3 separate regions of the Homo sapiens genome follow, and all the other regions are linked to region 3. Evidence: promoter capture Hi-C in 16 types of primary human blood cells and fetal thymus (Javierre and others, 2016). All regions are on one chromosome and are shown on one strand. Each heading gives the region's core, a stretch centred on a gene start or on the middle of the fragment in contact. The rest is flanking DNA. Distances are from core to core; before and after follow the strand shown. Region 1 overlaps RERE (arginine-glutamic acid dipeptide repeats). Region 2 has its middle 30 kb from the start of ERRFI1. Region 3 holds the start of SLC45A1 (solute carrier family 45 member 1).

What was found. The method cuts DNA at HindIII sites, captures the fragments that hold promoters and counts their contacts. A CHiCAGO score of 5 or more calls a contact.
Region 1: a contact is called between a fragment that was not itself captured here and the fragment with the promoter of SLC45A1 in region 3, in 1 of 17 cell types (total B cells). The highest score is 5.2, in total B cells.
Region 2: a fragment that was not itself captured here is called in contact with the fragment with the promoter of SLC45A1 in region 3 in 16 of 17 cell types (endothelial precursors, M2 macrophages, naive CD4 T cells and 13 more); the score reaches 30.8 in endothelial precursors.

What each region holds. Positions count from the first base shown.
Region 1 is chr1:8,756,710-8,760,921 of GRCh38, forward strand. The region is part of intron 1 of RERE (arginine-glutamic acid dipeptide repeats); the gene reads right to left. Among named protein-coding and RNA genes, the nearest start is that of RERE, 59 kb to the right of the region's middle. The HindIII fragment of the contact is 6,872 bases long and covers 1-4,212 here.
Region 2 is chr1:7,993,845-7,998,568 of GRCh38, forward strand. No RefSeq gene overlaps it. Among named protein-coding and RNA genes, the nearest start is that of ERRFI1, 30 kb to the right of the region's middle. The HindIII fragment of the contact is 8,948 bases long and covers 1-4,724 here.
Region 3 is chr1:8,315,129-8,319,853 of GRCh38, forward strand. SLC45A1 (solute carrier family 45 member 1) reads left to right here and starts at 2,986. Exons shown (of 9, transcript NM_001080397.3): 1 at 2,986-3,058. RefSeq lists a silencer at 2,816-3,095. The HindIII fragment of the contact is 5,366 bases long and covers 691-4,725 here.

The DNA.
Region 1 (4,212 bases), core at 1,024-3,523, 440 kb after region 3:
GAATGAAAACATGCAATTATATTAATTTGGCACTGAATCTTGTTAGTTTCAGTGGGTTTGAAACTTTGAAAATGATTTATTCATTAGAAAGCCACATGTTGGCCAGACATGGTGGCTCACACCTGTAATCCCAGCACTTTGGGAGGCTGAGGTAGGTGGATCACCTGACGTCAGGAGTTTGACACCAGCCTGACCAACATGGTGAAACCCTGTCTCTACTAAATACAAAAAATTAGTCAGGCATGGTAGTGCATGCCTGTAATCCCAGCTACTTGGGAGGTGAGGCAGGAGAATCACTTGAACCCAGGAGGTGGAGGTGGCATTGAGCCGAGATTGTGCCATTGCACTCCAACCTGGGCAACAAGAGCAAAACTCCATCTCAAAAAAAAAAAAAAAAAAAAAGCAAACCAGTTACTGCTTCTGATGGCACTCATAAAGATGGAAGATAATGAAGCTACTTGTCATTCAACACAAAACACACAAAGAAAGTGTTAACAGCTGGCAAATGTCACAAAGTAAACATTTTCCTATTTCTGTTAAATAAAATTCATTCCTAATAATCACTGTCCTGTATGAACTTTCCCTAGCAAATTACTGCCCCATTTCTTTCACTAAATAATCAATTTTTTCTAAAGTTAACACAAAAGAAATACCCTGGAAATCCTCATTCTCTAGTCATGACTAAATGAATGAACCACATGGGCTACCAAAATCAAATTCTCTACTGCATCACTAATGTAATACTAAATAGGATGCTCCATCAAAAGAGACCTAGAATTTACATAATTTCCCATAAACTTATCAGAGGAACAAATGTAAGACAATGGGAAGAAAATCAAGATAAGCTCACTGTTGTTGCTGGTTTGTGTATTCCTGTCTTTCTCAACTCCTCCCACAGCTGATAGAACATTGTAGTTAAGAGAGCTGGTAGAAACTACTTCACTAAAATTATGTATTTGAACATCAGCCTTTTTTCATTCTAGTCAGCCTTTTTTCACTCTAAAGTATTAAATTCAACCAAAAAGCCAAACATTCAAAGTCTGTTCACCAAAAACACTCATCATAAAGATGTTTATTTACTATCCATATAAGGACGCAAAATGGTATTCCTAACAGCCAATACACAGAATCAACCTAAGTGTCCATCAACAGATGAATGGATAAAGTCACATACATATGTATACACACACACACACATACATACACACACACACACACACATATATATGCAATAGGATACTATGTGTTCTAAGAAAATTCTGTTACTTGCAACAATATGGATGAACCTGGAGGATACTATGTTAAGTGAAATAAGTCAGACATAGAAAGACAGATACTGTATGATCCCACGTATATGCAGAATCCTAAAACGTCAAGTTCAATTTTTTTTTTTTTAGAAAGAATCTCGCTCTGTCACCCAGGCTGGAGTGCAGTGGCATGATCCCAGCTCACTGCAACCTCCACCTCCCAGGTTCAAGCAATTCTCCTGCCTGAGTCTCTCGAGTAGCTGGGATTACAGGCCTGCGCCACCATGCCCGGCAAATTTTAGTATTTTTTAGTAGAGGTGTTTCACCATGTTGGCCAGGCTGGTCTCGATCTCCTGACCTCCTGATCCACCCACCCAGCCACCCAAAGTGCTGGGAACACACGTGTGAGCCACCGTGCCTGGCCCTCAATCTTTTTTTTTTTTTTTTTTTAAAGAAACGGGGTTTCACTCTGTTGCCCAAGCTGGAGTGCAGCGGCACAATCATAACTCACTGTAACCTCAAATTCCTGGGTGCAAGCAATCCTCCTGCCTCAGCCTCCTAAGTAGCTGGGACTACAGGTGTGCGCCACCACACCTAGCTAACTTTTTATTTTTATTTTTTGTAGTGACGAGGTCTCGCCAAGCTGGTCTCGAATTCCTAGGATCAAGGGGTCCTCCTGCCTCATCAACCTTTTTTTTGAAGCTGAAGTAGAAGCAAAGAGTAGAATGGTGGTTACCAAAGGCTGAGAGGAGGACTGGGGAAATGTGAGTCAAAGGACATAAAATTTCAGTGAGGAGGAATAAGTTCAAGAGATCAGCTTTATAATATAGTGACTATAATTAATAATAATGTATTATATTACTGAAAATTGCAAAGAAGAATTTAAGTGTCCTCACCACAAAAAAAAAAAATGTGAAGTAATACATATACTCATTTTAGCCATTCCACAATGTATATATATTTCAAACCATCATGGTATACACAATAAATGTGTACAATTTTTGTCAATTTAAAAAATGGGATTATTCTCTCACCTCAACATTGAGGTACTAACTAAAAAGATATTTCCCAACTACTCAGATGCTGAAGCCGGAGGATTGCTTAAGCCCAGGAGTTGGAGACCAGCCTGGGCAACACAGTGAGACTCCATCTTGAAAAAATAAATAAAAATAAAAAGATACTGTGATTGTCAAAGAAAGGAAAGAGGTATTAAGTCACTGAAAGGTTATATTTTTCCTTTAGAAAAATGAAAAATTCCTACTTTACTGTCAACTATTACCTCTTCTGACACATTAACTGTAGAATCCTTTTATATGAGAAAATTACTAAATCGGACACTACATCTCAGAATCTGCTAGAGGTCACTTGGAAAAGAGCATCATCCTTTCAAAAGGCAAGGATGAAGAATTAGAAAGAAAAAGGCCAGAAGCACACAAGTGAAACAAGCCAGTGCACCTGAGGCCTTTGTTGGTCCAATCAAACTATAGGTCACAGGTATTTCAAAAAGGGGAATAAAAGACAACTGCAGTTACTTTAGAAAAGGGTTAAATTCTCCAAAGTAGACGCTTCCCAAAAGAAAAAACAGAACGAAAACTGCAAAATTCTTTCTTCTCTCCTTTGGAGAATACGGTTTAGCACAGTTTTTAAAAAATCAAAATCTCAAGAGATATGGGTGCCATTCCCATCCCAATAACTAAGTGGCTCTGCTAACTGCAGGTTGTGTGAAACTGTACACCCACTACGCTCAATTGCAAAACAGCCATAAAGAACTTAGAACACTACACAAGTTCAACAGACATGAAGAAAAACACTACAAAATTCAAATGTGAGGGACAATTTTCCTGCCAATATACGTATAACTCTAAATTCTTACTCTCTCTATACACACACACACACACACACACACACACACACACACACAATATGTCTTGATGATCAGAGCTATTACACTGTATAAATCTAATTAAGGTCAGTTTCCTATATGGGAAAAGGAAGATTTATCTGAGAAATAATTCAAAATAAATTCTCCCCAAGTAAATAGACCTAGGCCTATCATTAGTTTAGTTTAGTTTTGTTTTGTTTTTTTGAGATGGAGTTTCACTCTTGTTGCCCAGGCTGGAGTGCAGTGGCGTAATCTCAGCTCACTGCAACCTCTGCCTCCCGGGTTCAAGCAATTCTCCTGCCTCAGCCTCCTGAGTAGCTGGGATTACAGGTGCCCGCCACCGCGCCCAGCTAATTTTTTGTATTTTCAGTAGAGACGGGGTTTCATCATGTTGGCCAGACTGGTCTTGAACTCCTGACCTCAGGTGATCCGCCCGCCTCGGCCTCCCAAAGTGCAGGGATTAGAGGCGTAAGCCACTGCGCCCAGCCCCTAGGCCTGTAATAGTTAAGACAATCATTTATACATCATTTATATCAATCACCACAGTCCACAAAAGTCAGCCTTAGATAAGATGCCAAAAATCGGAGATGAATTAAAAGAAAGAGTCCTGGGTCAGTAGTACAGCTTTGTTGCAAGTATCTGCAGGGACCTGGTAGAGGTGTGAGAGACACAGTTCCTTGGTGTGAAGGGTGAGAGGTCACAGGGAGGGTAGCAGGAAGCCCAAGAACAGGTAACTGAATTTGGACAGGCTTTTGATATTTTAAGCCCATTTCCATGGATTTTTGTTGTGTTTTGAAGATAGGGTCTCGCTCTGTCACCCAGGATGGTTTCTTAATATATTTACTATAATTATTCCCTTGGAATACTAATATTAATACTAAGTTAAATTCTTTGAAAATCCAGCCAGTGTCAGTTATGCTAAATGAAAACAAAACACTTTGTACAATTTTATATTTAAAAAGAGAAGCTCTACACTCTAGGATTAGAAGCAGTGGAGCCAGCAAGACTCTCAGGGCAACATTAGCTACCATTTATGGAGCACTTCTTATGTTCCATGTGCCAGGCTAAATTATTTTCATACAT
Region 2 (4,724 bases), core at 1,451-3,950, 320 kb before region 3:
ACCTCCGCCTCCCAGGTTCAAGCGATTCTCCTGCCTCAGCTCCCAAGTAGCTGGGATCACAGGCGCGCGCAACCACACCAGGCTGATTTTTGTATTTTTTGTACAGACGGGGTTTCGCTGTGTTCTTCAGGCTGGCCTCAAACTCCTGACATCAAATGATCCGCCCGCCTTGGCCTCTGAAAGTGCTGGGATTACAGGCGTGAGCCACTGCCCCTAGCCCATAATTTCCTTCCTTTTTAAGGCTGAATAAAATTTAAGTGTATGTATGTTCCACATTTTGCTTATCCTTTCATCCCTTTATAGATTCTTGGGTTACTTCCACCTCTTAGCTATTGTGAATAATGCTGCTGTTAACATGGTGTCCACAGCTCTTCCGGACCCTGCTTTCGATTCTTTGGGGTATACACGCAGAAGTGGAATTGCTGAATCATATGGTCATTCTCATTGTGGTTTTGGTTTGCATTTTCCTAATGACTAATGATGTGGAGCATCTTTTCATCTGCTTATTGGCCATTTGTACATCTTAGATATGTCTATTCAAGTGCTTTGCCCATTAAATTTTTTTTTCCAGGGGCCATGCTAATAATCTGTGTTGTTCCATTTTTAGTATATGTGCTACTGAAGTGTGCACTTTGCCCAGTTTTGAATCGGGTTTTTGTTGTTGCTGCTGATATGATTTGTTTTTTTTTTTTTTTGAAACAGAGTCTCACTCTGTCTCCCAGACTGGAGTGCAATGGCGCGATCTCAGCTCACTGTAACCTCCACCTCCCGAGTTCAAGCGATTATCCCACCTCAGCCTCCCATGTAACTGGGATTACAGGCATGTGCCACCATGCCTGGCTAATTCTTTTGTATTTTTAATAGAGATGGGGTTTCATCATGTTGACCAGGCTGGTCTTGAATTCCTGGCCTCAAGTGATCCACTTGCCTCAGCCACCCAAAGTGCTGGGATTACAGGCGTGAGCCACTATGGTTGACCCACGCATAAGCCAACTTTAATGTTTTTCAATAAAGTTTTGTAATTTCCCCATTAAGCGTTTACACATCTTTTGGATTTATTGTTGGTATTATTAGGTCTGTCTTTTTTTCTTTCTTCTTTCTCTCTTCTCTTTCTTTCTCTTTTCTTTCTTTTTCTTTCTTTCTCTCTCCCTTTCTTTCTTTTTCTCTCTTTCCTTTTCTTTCTCTCTCTCCCTTTCCTTTCCTTTTCTTTTTCTCTTTTTTTCCTTTTCCTTCTTTCTCTTTCTTTCTTTCTCTTTCTCTCTCTCTCTTTCTTTCTCTTTCTCTCTCTCTCTTTCTTCCTTTCTCTTTCTCTCTCTCTCCTTCCTTCCCTCCCTCCCTCCCTCCTTCCTTCTTTCCTTCTTTCTCCTTTTTCTTTCTTTCCTCCCTCCCTCCCTCCCTTCCCTCCTTCCTTCCTTTCTTTTTCATTGTTAATTCCTTTTTTAAATTGTTTTCTGATTGTTGCTGGTATATAGAAATACAGATACTTTTATTTACTTATTTACTTTTTTAAGAGACAGGGTCTTCCTCTGTCACGCAGGCTGGAGTACACTGGTGTGATCAAATTTATGACCTGCTTTTAGGCAAAAAGGGGGAGGGCAGAGAACTCTTTCTGGATCTGTTGATTCTCAATTGCCTTCAGCTCAAAATAATCTTTATGTCAAAGTCGCATATTCTGTGGTGGCCTGTCCGGATCCCCTTCAAGTCTCTCTGACCTTTCTTCTGCCCTCCAGCCTGGGTGACAGAGCTAGAGTCTGTCTCAAATAATAATAATAATACAATAAATAAATAAATAAATAAATAAATAAATAAAGTACGCTTTCCATTCTTGGTTTGCTAAGAGTTTTTGTCATGAGTAGATGTTGAAATTTATTGAATGGTTTTCCATCATCAGTGACATCTTCTGGCTTTTCTCCTTTAATCTATTACCATGGTGAATTATATCAGTAGATTTTCTTTTTCTTTTTTTTTGAGACAGAATCTCGCTCTGTCGCCCAGGCTGGAGTGCAGTGGCGCGATCTCAGCTCACTGCAAGCTCTGCCTCCCGGGTTCATGCCATTCTCCTGCCTCAGCCTCCCCAGCAGCTGGGACTACAGGTGCACGCCACCACGCCTGGCTAATTTTTTTGTATTTTTAGTAGAGACGGGGTTTCACCGTGTTAGCCAGGATGGTCTCCATCTCCTGACCTTGTGATCTGCCCGCCTCGGCCTCCCAAAGTGCTGGGATTACAGGTGTGAGCCACCGCGCCCAGCCTTATGTCAGTAGATTTTCTAATGAACTAGTCTTGCATGCCTGAAGTAAACCCAATGTGGTCATTATGTTTTTATACATTACCAGGTTCTATTTGATAAGTATGTAATTTAAGGGTTTTTACATCTCATGGGTAAAGTTGAACTGAAACTTTCCTTTCTTGTACTGTCTTTGTACAGTTTTGGAATCACAGTTACGCTGAAGTCCTATCTTTTTTTTTTTTTTTCAGATGGAGTCTCACTCTGTTCCCCAGGCTTGAGTGCAGTGGTGCAATCTCGGCTCACTGCAAGCTCCGCCTCCCAGGTTCGTGCCATTCTCCTGCCTCAGCCTACCGGAGTAGCTGGGACTACAGGTGCCCGCCACCACGCCCGGCTAATTTTCTGTATTTTTAGTAGAGACAGTGTTTCACTGTGTTTGCCAGGATGGTCTCAATCTCCTGACCTTGTGATCCGCCTGCCTTGGCCTCCCAAAGTGCTGGGATTACAGGCATGAGCCACCGTCCCTGGCCTAAAGTCGTGTCTTGAGTTGGGGAGCATGTTAGGCCATTCTTGCATTGCTATAAAGAAATACCTGAGATTGGGTAATTTATAAAGAAAGAGGTTGATTTGGCTTACGGTTCTGCAGGCTGTACTGGAAGCATGGCCCTGGCATGTGCTCGGCTTCTGGGGAGGCCTCAGGGAGCTTTTGCTCATGGTGGAAGATGAAGTGATAACAGGAGTCTCACATGGTGGGAGCAGGAGCAAGAGATGGGGGTCGGGGAGTAGATGCCACACACACTTGACAACAACCACATCTCGGGAGAACTCACTACCAAGAAAACTGCACCAAGCCATGGAGGATCCGTCCCCATGACCCAAACGTCTCCCACCAGGCCCCACCTCCAACACTGGGGATAATTCAATATGAGACTTGGGTGGGGACAAATATCCTAACTATATCGGGAGTATCCCTCTTCTGCTTTTCTATATAAATATTTCTGAAGGGTAAGAAATACCTATTCTTTGAATGTTTCATGGAAATTTCCCCTAAATCCACCTGGGTGTCAAGTTTTTAAAAACGGAGCTGAAATTCATCTAACAGAATGAACCATGTTGAAGCAGACTGTTCAGGGGCACTTAGTACATTCATAATGTGCAGTCCTCACTGCTGTCCAGCTCCGTAATACTTTCATCCCTCAGAGTAGATCCGGTGCTCATTAGAAGTCATCCTCACTCCCCAGTCCTCTCTCCCACAGCCTCTGACAAACCCTATTTGACCTTCTACCTCTATGGATTTACCTATAATGGATGTTTCATGTAAATGGAATCATATAACATAATGGAGTAATATTGTATGGATGTACCACATTTTGTTTATCCATTTATCCACTGATAGACATTTGGCTTTGTCTTCTGGCTATTGTGAATACCACTGCTATGAGCATTCATGTACAACCATTTATTTCACTACCTGTTCGCAATTCTTTTTTCTTTTTTTTTCTTTCTTTTTTTTTTTTTTTTTTTTTGAGATGGAGTCTTGCTTTGTTTCCCAGGCTGGAGTGCAGTGACACAATCTCAGCTCACTGCAACCTCTGCCTCCTGGATTCAAGTGATTCTCCTGCCTCAGCCTCCCTAGTAGCTGGGATTACAGGTGCACGCCACCATGCCCAGCTAATTTTTGTATTTTTAGTAGAGACAGGGTTTCACCATGTTGGCCAGGCTGGTCTCAAACTTCTGATGTCAGGTGATCCACCTGCCTCGGCCTCCTAAAGTGCTGGGATTACAGGCATGAGCCACCACACCCAGCCAAGAGCTGATTATTAAAAAGAGTTTCGCACCTCCTCCATTCCCTCTTGCTCCCTCCCTTGCCATGTGACAAGGCCAGCTGCCCCTCCTTCTGCCATGAGTGGAAGCAGCTTGAGGCCTCACCAGAAGCAGATGCTGGCACCATGCTTCTTGTACAGTCTACAGAACTGTGAGCCAAATAAACCTCTTTTCTTTATAAGTTACCCAGCCTCAGGTATTCTCAGGTATCTTTTATAGCAACACTAAATGAACTAAGACACTTTCATATCTCTTAACCTCTTTTTCATATTTTCAGTTTCTTTACTTTTTTGTACTGTATTCTGTATAATATTGTTTTCTGTGTAATATTTTCAGATCCACTGTCTAGTTCATAATTCTTTTTTTTTTTTTTAATTTTTTTGGGATAGGGTCTCACTCTGTCACCCAGACTGGAGTGCAGTGGTATGATCTCGGCTCACCACAACCTCCGCCTCCCAGGTTCAAGAGATTCTCCTGCTTCAGTCCCCCAAGTAGCTGGGATTACAGGTGTGCACCACTACTGCCTAGCTAATTTTTGTATTTTTAGTAGAGACAGGTTTTCCCCATGTTGGCCAGGCTGGTCTCAAACTTCCGACCTCAAATTATCCACCTGCCTTGACCTCCCAAAATGCTGGGATTACGGGCGTGAGCCACTGTGCCCAGCTCTCACAATTT
Region 3 (4,725 bases), core at 1,736-4,235:
GCCATCCTTCCCCCACACCCAGGACCGGAAGGGCGAGCGTCTCTTGTCTTTCCTGCATGTTCTGTCAGCCCCTTCCACTCTGGCCCCCAGTCTAGACCTATTGTCGAGACAGGAGAAATCTTGTCTGCCCCCAGGGAGAAACACTGCTCTCTGCCCTGAACTTGGAGGGGCTAAAAAGCAAAAGCTCTAGCCTTAGAAGGTTCTCACTTTGGAAGTTTAAAAAAGGTCAAAGGAATTTTCAAAATCCCTTTCTTTCTCAACAATGCTTAGATTTCAAACCTCTTCTCTTGTTGCAAAATCCCGTTGTGAACATCAGAACCTCGAGATGATCTTTAAGTTTTCTCAGCATTCCCCATCTTCTCTCCCCTCTGCAAGCAGCTAAAAGTTACAGAAGCAGTTGAAGCCAGCAACTCCCCACCCCCATCTCCTCCTCTCCTGGGGACAGGGGCCCCATCTCTCAGCCCTGTTGTGGGTTGGGTGTGGCCGGTGTGGCTGTGTGGCAGGGTCCTAGCCAATGGGATTCGAGTGGAACGTGGGCCTCCTGCACACCTGGCCCCGTGGGCAGGCACCACCTGGGCTCCTCCCTCAGTGCACCAGGGCAGAGCAAGATGGAGGCAACCGGGATCCCTGAATGGCTTCACAGAGGTCCCCACCCATCAGGCACACTTCTGCCAACCTCATGTGGAAGTAAGCTTCTATTGCATTAAGTCCCTGAGGTGCTGAAGCTCATCAGTTGATGGCAGGCCACTTGCATGCAAAATAGAAAAGGACATCGGTATTTTTTTCAAGCTGTTACCCTGTTATAGAGATAAAAGAAGCCAGAACCAGCCCCCTCCAGTGGCTCCTTCTCTTCAGCCTGGGCAGGATCTGTTGAAATTCCCATGGTGTCCTCTGGGGCCCTCTGCCCTGCGCCTCTCCCTGGCAGTGCGAGGTCCACAGTTCACCTGCAATTAGCTCCCATGTGCAGGGGACTCATAAAGGAGCATCTTTGAGCTCCAGACCCAAGTGTCTGGTGGCCTAGAGGCTGCGAAGGCCCTCAAGCTCAGCATATCCCAAAGCAAACCTATGGCATTCACTCCAGCACACACCTGCTTTGGCCTCCATGAATCCACTCTCTTCCCTCATCGCTCAAGCTAGAAACTTCTTAGCACCACCCTCGCTGTTCCTGTACCCCCCCACCTTCAGTCAATCATGGAGTCCTAAGTCCCCGGCCAGTCCATCACCTCTCTCCCTCTACCAACACCCCCAACTCTCCCACCTGTGCCACCCGGTACGCCCATGTGGTCCCCTGGTTCCCTCCAATCTGTTTTCACTCTGAGCTTTATGATCTTTGCTAACTGTGAATAGGATTCATGCCATCCACTCCCCTACATAAAACCTTTCTAGGCTTCTCTTTGCTCTTAGAAACTGGCAACTGCCTAAGAGGCCACACCTGGGCCTGTCCCACCTCCCCAGCCCTCACCTCCTTCCCAGGCCTCTGCATCCCTGTCCCCCTCCACTTCCTTTGCAGTGTGCCTCCAGGCCCTCTCCCCTCCGGAGCTCTGCCAGTGCAGAGCTCTCTGAGCCCTCTGTGTGGGACATGCTGTTCTCTCTACTTGGCCTGGTAGGGCTCCTTGAGGAGCCCTCGACCCTCCCAATGGGGTGGAATCCGCCGCGGTAAACTTCCACAGGGCCCCGTGCCCCCACTCTGCAGCGCTTCCCTGGGGTTATTATTCCACTACCAGCTGCATAATTATTTCATCCGTAATTATTGGACTCAGCCCAGCTCACTTCTGCCCCTGGCCTTTGCACTTGCTCTTCCCAGTGCCTGGCGTGACCTTCCCCACACGTCAGTCTGGCTGGCCCCCCTAGCTCCTCAGGTCCTTCTTTTCTTTTTGAGATGGAGTCTCACTCTGTGGCCCAGGCTGGAGTGCAGTGGCACGATCTCAGCTCACTGCAACCCCTGCCTCCCAGGTTCAAGCGATTCTCCTGCCTCAGCTGAGTAGCTGAGATTACAGGCACCCAGCACCACGTGTGGCTAATTTTTATATTTTTAGTAGAGATGGGGGTTTTGCCATGTTGGCCAGGCTGGTCTCGAACTCCAGACCTCAGGTGATCTGCCCCTCTCGGCCTCCCAGAGCGCAGGGATTACAGGTGTGAGCCACCGTGCCCGGCCTGCTCCGCAAATCCTCCTTCTAGTGTCACCTTCCAGGTGAGGACTCGCCAACAACCTGATAGAAACCTGCAAGGCCAGCGCCTCTGCAGCCCCACACTCCCTAACCCCTTCTCTAGGGCATTGCCATCTTCTGACATACCATTTATTTTATGTCTTGTTTAATGTGTGTGTGTCTCTCTCTTAAATGTCATGCAGCCGGGTGCGGTGGCTCACACCTGTACTTTGGGAGGCCGAGGCAGAAGGATCACTTGAGCCCAGGAGTCGAGACCAGCCTGGGCAACATAGCAAGGCCCTGCCTCTCTGTATTTTAAAAAATGAAGTAAATAATAAATACATAAAGTATTTATGTATTTACTTACATTACAAAGTTCCCCCAGGGGCGGGAACTTTGCCTTGTTCTTGCGGCATCCCCAGTGCCTTGGACAGCTCCGGGCCCAGAGTCGCGACGCCTCCAGCAGGCCCGGCTGCCCCACTGCGCACATGGGCACAGGCTTGGCACACGCACTGCGGCATTCACGTATCCGCGAACACATGGGTATCTATTTATACATGAAGACACGAAAATGTATTTATTTCTTTTAAAATCAGAAGAAAACGGTGAGAACTGTGAGGCCGGGGGGACGTTTTCCTCCGGGATCCTGGCAGATCCTGCAGACCGCGCCGTCGTGCGCGAAGCACCGGGACGGGCCTCCCGCGGGAAGGGCCCAGGAGGACACCGGGCTCCCCTCCCGCCCGCGGGGCCCCAGACGCGGCGCCGCTTTAAGGCTCCGGGCCCCGCGCGGATGCGGAGGCTGCGGCCGTGACGTCAGCGCCCCGCCCCGGGTGATGCTGCAGCAGCCGGGACCGCGGCCGGGCAGGCAGCAGCCCAGCGGGGACAGGGATGCCTGCCGTCTCCACCCACAGGTACCACCGTCTCCTCCGCGCCCTCCGCCCGCTCTCTGGCTCCGTGCCTGCCGGGGCGCCGCGCCCTGGGCCCCGGGGTAGTCAGGGCGCCGAGACCGGGACCCGAGGCCGGCACGGAGACCTTTGTTCCTCGTGGAAGTCTCATGAATTGCAGAGTCCACGGAGCTCCCCCGTCTCGCCCCTCCGAGGGCAGGAGCCTCGGGCCCAGGGGAGGGTGCCGGCCAGATGGCAGGTGCTCTCATCCTTGCTGGCAAGGGGAGGAGACCCCGGCCTTGGCCCCAGCTCCTGATGCGCTCCTTGAGCCGGAGGCCTGGTCCCTAGTCACCTGGGCAGGTGTCATCCGCTCCCGGCTCACCTCTTGCGTGGGGCTGAGCCCTCTTGTTGACCAGGGGCCTGGCAACGCCCCTCAGCATCCCAGGGTTACTTAGCGAGGGCACCGAGGACTCCCCTTTCCCGAGCGAGTCAGCACCAAGGGGAACGCGCTGAGGTGGAAGCCGTTCAGCTCCTTCTGCCCTCGACAATCAGCAACTTCTCTAATTATTTCTAGAGTGACAGCCGTGCATGTTTTTCAGCTCTTACAGGGAAGCAGAGTCAGGGGCGGAGGAAAGCCACGTTCAGGCTGCACCTGGCCTGGGCTTTTGGGAAAAGTTGGCCCTGGAGTAGGGGTCAAGCTGCCGGAGATGCAAAGTGGGAAACGGCCACGATTCAGTAACTAGCCTATTAAGTGCACCCTCCCAAGTCCGTAGAGCACCTTCCTGGTCCTGGAGGACCTCACTGAAGAATTTTGAGAATGGGTAGAAAGAAGCATGAGGGGTCGGGCGCGGTGGCTCATGCCTGTAATCCCAGCACTTTGGGAGGCTGAGTCGGGTGGATCACCTGAGGTCAGGAGTTCAAGACCAGCCTGGCCAACATGGTGAAACCCCATCTCTACTAAAAATACAAAATTAGCCGGGCGTGGTGGCACATGCCTGTAATCCCAGCTACTTGGGAAGCTGAGGCAGGAGAATCGCTTGAACCCAGGAGGCGGAGGTTGCAGTGAACCCAGATCATGCCACTGCACTCTAGTCTGGGCGATAGAGTGAGACTCCGTCTCAAATAAACAAATAAGCAAATACGCCCTAGGAAGGGAGGTGGCCCAAGGCAACCCCGTGGGGGGAGCTCATTTTCATAACGAGAAGAAAGAAATGAGGAAATGGTTTCCGCTCGTAGTAGGATCATTGTAAGCATTCAAACTACATTGACATTGATTACTTTTATTAATCATTTGCCGCTTAAACTTCCCACAACACAGTTTGAGGAATCTGTTACTTTAAGCATCCTCTGTACTCTGGAAGCACAGTGGACCCCTTGCATAGCCTTCGGGGGATCCAGGGAGATGAGTGGATTTCCTTTTGACCGAGTAAATGGTCATATGGTACAGTAAAGATGGTCTGGCGAATGTTTGTATTTGTGCATGAAAATTAGATTTTATGATCTTAAATTCCACTTTCACCCATTTTTATGGGAACCTTAAAAATGGATTTTTGTTGTTGTTGTTGTTGTTTTTTGAGACAAGAGTCTCACTCTGTTGCCCAGGCTGGAGTGCAGTGGTGCGATCTCAGCTCGCTACAACCTCCACCTCCTGGGTTCAAGCGATTCTCCTGCCTCAGCCTCCGGAGTAGCTGGGA